2 separate regions of the Homo sapiens genome follow, and region 2 is linked to region 1. The links are contacts of gene promoters, found by promoter capture Hi-C in human tissues and cell types (Jung and others, 2019). All regions are on one chromosome and are shown on one strand. The core of a region is centred on a gene start or on the middle of the fragment in contact, and the rest is flanking DNA. Distances in the headings are between cores, read along the strand shown.

What was found. Contacts are between HindIII fragments. The study calls those that stand out against the background at their distance.
Region 2: a fragment that was not itself captured here is called in contact with the fragment with the promoter of TAF3 in region 1 in 1 of the 25 tissues and cell types used here (dorsolateral prefrontal cortex).

The regions. Positions count from the first base shown.
Region 1 is chr10:7,816,702-7,820,361 of GRCh38, forward strand. TAF3 (TATA-box binding protein associated factor 3) reads left to right here and starts at 1,804. Exons shown (of 7, transcript NM_031923.4): 1 at 1,804-2,174. The coding sequence starts at 2,009. LOC105376392 (a long non-coding RNA gene) reads right to left here and starts at 1,662. Exons shown (of 3, transcript XR_001747356.1): 1 at 1,551-1,662. RefSeq lists enhancers at 1,480-1,998, 1,811-1,870, 1,999-2,516. The HindIII fragment of the contact is 13,699 bases long and covers 1-3,660 here.
Region 2 is chr10:6,713,738-6,717,004 of GRCh38, forward strand. No RefSeq gene overlaps it. Among named protein-coding and RNA genes, the nearest start is that of LINP1, 22 kb to the right of the region's middle. The HindIII fragment of the contact is 3,958 bases long and covers 1-3,267 here.

The sequences.
Region 1 (3,660 bases), core at 554-3,053:
TTTCACTCCTTCCCCCAAGTCCCAGGAGGATCCCTCAATGAACTTTCTGCAGGCTCATCTCTATTTCAGAGTTGACTTCCTGGGGAACCAAGCCTGTGACATATGGTCTTGTGTATAGTTATGTGGGGGAATGTTCTTGTTTTGGGGTGATACATGTCGAGGTGTGGTGGGGTTAAGTGTCATGAAGTTTGCAGCTTATTTTCAAACTGCTGGAAAAAAAATACCTGCGTGCATATATAAATACAAAATATATAGTAAATTGGCAAAATGTTAACAATTGGTGAATCTAGTTGAAGTGTACACGTGAGTCTATGATTTTGTTTCAACTTTTCTGTAGGTTTGAAATTTTCCGAAATAAAATCCCCTCCCCTATACACAGAAAGGCAAATGAAGAGGAACAAACACCCAGGGTGGCGGCGGTAGCGGGACAGATTTGTGAAATCCAAGGCGCAAGAGAGTTTCAATGTTACAGAAGCGTTCAACATTATCAAATAGCTACAAAATAATCAAGTACGGCTAGGACTGAAAAATGTCTCATAGATTTAGCAACACAATGTTCCTGATAACTTGGGGACAGAGTGTCCAGGGAGTAAATGCAGGCACCTTGCCCTTTAGTACCTTGCTTCTCTGCAGATCGTCATTTAGCTGAAGAACCATAATTTCAGTTCTATTATTGAGTTTCCCAGACTTTGAAAAATGTGAATATCATGTTCAAAGTTCTGGAATAGTCCCTGTCGGAGGAATATAGAGCCACTCATAAACTCGCAATTTATTGGAGGAGCACATAAACTAAATACACTGTGATAAGTACAGAAGGGCATATTTAAGAAACCGCATAGTTCAGCCACTACAATCGGGCGACCTGCAGGCTGAATCTAGACTAACCGTGGGATCAGTTTGGCTTTTGAGATGTGTTCCCAATTCTGTATTTAAAAATCAAGATATTTATCCCTAAATCCGATTTCTGGCAATACTTGGATGGAGCTGGGAGAAGGCTCTGGGGTAGGCAACCGTTCCCAGGACACTCGGCCTGCGACACCGGTTTAAGGCTCGGTTTGGCCTCTGTAGGCAGCCGAGGTCCCCATCCCCCGATAGGTCACAGCCGCGATGCTCAAATCGCACACTATAGCCCACAGGCAGCTTACCTGTTTTTTTTAAAAAAAAAAAAAAAAAAAAAGTTTTATTGGAACCAGGGCTGGGATTAGAATGACATGAGTGAGTCAGGAGTTTATGGCATGGATTTGGATTTTTTTAAAAAAACTGTTAAAATATTATCGATCTTGATGACTGAGTTTTTTGAGGCCCCCATTAATTTGGCACAGAGTCCTCCTAGTTCCTGCCCTATTGCGAAGGGCTTTGAAGGGCATGCGGAACAGCTTGGACTTTATTTAATCTTTGCAGTGGCAAGCAGCTCAATACACAGATTTTTAGCTGAGGCAACACCAGCGCAGGTCTGCGTTTGGCGAGCTCCGTAAGTTCCCACGCCCCAAACTTCTCTCTAGCACATAACTCTCTAATATGACTAACGTTATTAGTGCTAACTCTCTAACCTGTCAATGTCGTATCCCAGATCCCTCGTTTGCCTCTAAAACACTGGCGTTTTCGTCACCGCTGTCCCCCAGGTGAGCGCCCCAGCACCTGCCGCCCTGGGCGCCTCCTCCACCTGCGCGCCCCACGCCCGCTTCCGGCCGGCTTCCAGGCCTCAGAGGCGATCCCGAGGAATCGTTCCGCTCCCAAGGGGCGGAGCTTTCTCATCGCCGCGCTCGGCATTCGGCTTATGCTGCCTCGCCCCGGCGGCCGTCCAGCGGGAGGCGGAGCGAGTCCAAAATGGCGGCTCTCAGGCTGGCGCGCTCCGTGCTGCTGGGGCTTTGAGGTGGTCGCCGGGGGTCCGGGGGACCCTTTCCCCGCCGCGGAAGCCCTAGAGGATGAATCGGGGACCCTGCTAAGGTCTGGCGGCGGGGCTGGAGAGCAGTGGCAGCAAGGGCTGCGGTGGCGTCCACGCAGCGGGATGTGCGAGAGTTACTCCAGGTCGTTGTTGAGGGTCTCGGTGGCGCAGATCTGCCAGGCGCTGGGCTGGGACTCGGTGCAGCTCAGCGCCTGCCACCTCCTCACGGACGTGCTGCAGCGCTATCTGCAGCAGCTGGGCCGGGGCTGCCATCGGTACTCTGAGCTCTGTGAGTACCGGGCTGGGTGCGGGAGGGCTGCCCCGGCAAGTCAAGGGTGACACCTTCGCTCTCCCTGTCCCTCCGCGTCCCCGGGGTGTGCATCCCGCACCCCGCCTCGAGATCTGCTGTTTCCTCGGCCTCCCACGTCCCTGGGCTTCCACTGCCGCTCCAAACTCTAGTCATCCTTCGGGTGCCTCTTCCTTATCCGCTAACTTCCCGCCACCAGCCCGGGAGTCGGGTCTTCGCTCCCAGCTCCACACCCTCCTACCGCTCCTCCGCTCTGAATTGTGTCTGGATCTCTCTCATTGTCTCCTGTTTGCTGCGGGTAGATCCACCCCCAGCGTGCCCTACACCCTCTTTTACCTCGGTCCTTTTTCTCCCTTGCCCGCAAACTACTACAACTAGTTGTCACAGGCGCTCCGTCTACCGGCCGTTTCTTACAAGACTGGCCATTCCTGGGCTCCTAACTACATAGACTCGTTGACAGCTCTGCTCCGTTAGGGACACTGCCTCGTCTTTCTGTATCTGTTCGTTTCGTGAACGACATCTCCATTTACTGTTTTTCCAAGGCTGACTTTGTCAGTTTCGCTGATTAGATGTACTTTCACTTACGTCTCGGTTACCAGTGAGATGTCAGTGGCTATCGAAGTAGGATAGAGGGACCGTGGGCAGTTGACAAGATTCTCCAGGTAATCTGGGCTACAGTACTTATGAGTTTTAAATGAATGTCTGGTAATATCTATAGCTAGTGGTATTTAATAATTTAATGGAAGGAATGGAATATTTTAATAGAAGCTCCACATTATCTTGTTGATGTGAAGCATTGTATGTGTGTTTGTTGAGGAGAGGAAACTACCACTCATTTTAGTTTCAAGTCATGATGTTTAAGGTGGTGAGCTGGAGAACTGAATGAAGTGTTTCATAGGATATTTTGTTTTGTTAAAGTGGTTCCTATACTGGAAAATTGAGACTCACAGACACACGCTGTATTTCTTAGGCCCCAAGTTTCGTTCCCGCTTCCACAGGGCTGCCAAAATAATCTGTCCATAGCACAGATCTGATCCTGTCATTATTCTTAAAAACATTTTAACTATACTTCGTTGGTTACAGGCTAAAAATCGAAACTCTTAGCAGTACACAGTTCCCTTTGTGAGCTAGCATTTTGCTTACCTTTTGCCAGCCTGCCATGCTAATCTGCGACCACGCTGAGCTACCTGCCTTTTCCAAAATGTTTTAAGCTGTCCATTCCTACATGCGTGCTGTTTCTTACCTAGAGTGTCCTTTGCCCGTGGCCCACCAATAGTATTACTTTTATTTTCAGATGCACTTATCACTTGCTCTAGGGAACTCATGTTATCTGCTTTCATAATTCTGTGCATATTTCTTTTATATTATTTGTCATCTTGTTTTGTAATCACCTGTGTATGTCTCTTTCCCCTCTCCAGGAGAAAAATTGATTATATTTGTATTCTGTAACCTGTAGGGCCATTATATA
Region 2 (3,267 bases), core at 654-3,153, 1.1 Mb before region 1:
GGGATTAGAGGCATGAAGTAACTTGCCAAAGATTACCTGGGTAGAGACTGAATAACTCAAACCAAGGTTGTGGCCCTTTTGCCTACACTGTTAAATGGCAGCACTACTGTGAGGGAGGTCTTGAAGTAACTCATGAAGCTTCAACCAGAGCACCTCGGACAGCTCCCAGCCAATGAAAGGAAGTTTCTGGGTCGAGATGTTTTCCGGACGAATGTGTTGAACCTGGTCCCTTAACTCTCTCCATCACTATTTTGACCAGAACGAGGAAGTGGTTTTTTTCCACCCTTCAACTTTTATTTGAAGTTCCGGGGTACATGTGCAGGATGCGCAGGTTTGTTACATAGATAAATGTGCCATGGTGGTTGGCTGCACAGATCACCCCATCACCCAGGTATTAAGCCTAGCATCCATTAGCTATTTTGAGGAAGGATTTTATTTTATTTTATTTTATTTTGAGAGACAGGGTTTCACTCCTGTTGCCCAGGCTGGAGTGCAGTAGTGCAGTCTTGTCTCACTGCAGCCTCCTTCTCCCAGGCTCAAGCGATTCTCATGCCTCAGCTACCTGAATAGCTGGGATTACAGGTGCATGCCACCAAGCCTGGCTAATTTTTGTATATTTAGTAGAGATGGGGTTTCACCATGCTGGCCAGGCTGGTCTCGAACTCCTGACCACAGGTGATCTGCCTGCCCAGGCCTCCCAAAGTGCTAAGATTACAGGTGTGAGGCACTGCACCCGGCCTGAGGAAGGATTTTAATACCTTAGTTGTAAATGTGACTTTACAGTCTACACAGCACATTTGTTCTCAGGACAGCCCTGTTGGTGGATATTATTATTTTCTTTTAACTGGTGTAAAAAAACTCAGGCACCTGTCCAGTTAATTTACCTACCTTAAAAAGCTATTAAATGAAGAAACAAGAATGTACACTTTAGTCTCGTGTTTGTTCTTACCGCAAAACATGGATATACGGAATTCCCTGGTCGAGTCTCTGACGCCCAAGCCATGGTATTGACACAGAGATGACACCTTCCCCAACGTCCTTGATTTAACCAGGGTAAGCTCTTGCTCTCTTTATGGCAACTTGTTTCTTGCATGCCATAGAAGAAAAAATAGCTCTAGTTTATTTTTTGAACAAAATGGTCATTTGCCAAGAAGTTCTCCTGTCAGAAGTTCTCCAGAAAATTCCAAGACTTACCTGGGAACAAAAGAAAGCCTGCTAGCCCAGAAATGAGAATTTTAATTTTGATCAGCTCTCAGGAGATCTGTGGGAACCTCAATTTGCTCGGTGTCTTTGAAACACTGCAGTCTTGTGTATACTGAGTGGGTGGCCATGGTAGTGTGCCATACACAGGTGCAATAAAAAATAGCTTATCAACTCCTGACTTCAGGTGATCCTCCCGCCTCAGCCTCTCAGCCTTGCCAACATGGTGAACCTCTGTCTCTACTAAAAATACAAAAAAATTACCTGGGCGTGGTGGTGGACATCTGTAATCCCAGCTACTCGGGAGGCTGAGGTGAGAGAATTTCTGGAACCTGGGTGGCAGAGGTTGCAGTGAGCTGAGATTGCAACATTGCACTCCAGCCTGGGTGACAGAGTGAGACTCTGTCAAGAAAAAAAAAAAGGCCAAGCACAGTGGCTCACACCTATAATCCCAGCACTTCAGGAGGCCGAGGCAGGCGGATCACCAGAGGTTGGAAGTTTGAGACCAGCCTGGCCAACATGGCGAAACCCCATCTCTACTAAAAATACAAAAATTAGCCGGGCATGGTGGTGCATGTCTGTAGTCCCAGCTACTTGGGAGGCGGAGGCACAAGAATCACTTGAACCCAGAGGTGGAGGTTGCAGTGAGCTGAGATTGCGCCACTGCACTCCAGCCTGGGCAACAGGTTAAGACTACATCTCAAAAAAAAAAGAAAAAAAAAAGGAAAGAAAAAAAAAGCGTATCAAATTGTCCAAGCTGAGGCTTGCTTGACATGAAGGGCTTCTTGAATGCTTAGCCTAAAGACAGCCTACCCTCCAACAGTGGCTATACTGTCATCTGTGACTTGTTATTTGCATCATATTGTGGGGCTTATTTCCAGAGAACTGCAATTTGAAACTCAGTTACTCTTCCCATCAGCTGTTCCCTCTCATCCTCTCTCCAACAAGAAAAATAAGATGGTGTTTGGGGCCTTTCGGGGGTTGGGGGAAAGGGGAGGGAGAGCATTAGGACAAATACCTAATGCATGCAGGGCTTAAAACCTAGGTGACGGGTTGATAGGTGCAGCTAACCACCATGGCACACGGATACCGATGTAACAAACCTGGATGTTTTGCACATGCCCCAGAACTTAAAGTAACATTTTTAAAAAATTTTTTAAAAAAAGAAAAGAAAAATAAGATGGTATTAAATGTATGTTAAAAGGATGGTAATTATTATCAGTGTACTCTTGAAAGAAGCTAGGTTTTCAGCAATTCTTAAAATCGGTATTTAAGCCACCTATGTGGCTTACAAAGGCAAGTCTTTTCATTGTTTGCGGCTAATAGTGAGGCCAGTGCATACTCCCAGAAGCAAAAAGAAATAGCCTGTTGTAGTTTAGAAATTGATTCAAATTTTGTTTTCTGAGCACGCGAAAGAAAAACTTTCAATGCTTCTGCCAAAATAGCTTGTTTTTATTCAGGTCTTCAAAGAGAGTATAGGTTGTTATTTCTTTAGATATTGTCTACTTTTCTTCAAATGGCACTTTTTGAAGAGGCCAAGTCATTTCAATAATTCGTGTGTGTGTGTGTGTGTGTGTGTCTGTGTGTGTGTGTGTCTGTGTGTGTTTTACCTTGAATGGTGTTAGGAGAATTAAGCCAAATACTGTTAGCATCAGATCACTGGCTTATGAAATCTCTTCTATTTGTGTGTTCCATGATGAACTGGGGCTGTTGCTGCTGATTTTCCATTGGCTGGCTCAGCTAACAAAGCTTTACAAACTGCTCTGAGCTTGTGTCTTCAGTAAGTTCCAGCTTCTTCTCATTGGTTCTTGTAAAGATGCTGAAGGAGGTAGGGCGTTGGTGACTCACTATTATAAAACTCTTTTACTAAGAGTTGCAGGAGAAGGCTCTAATGAATTGCATACAGGGAACTATAACACACTGGCTCTGCTAAAACTTGTGAGTAAAAGGAGACAGATGGGCAAAGGAGATTTGACCTGCTTTTTTCTTAAAGAAAACATATGAGAAAGAGCAGGTTTGGAGTAAGATGGACTTGGTTTTGAATCTTGGTGCCATGATTTAACAGTT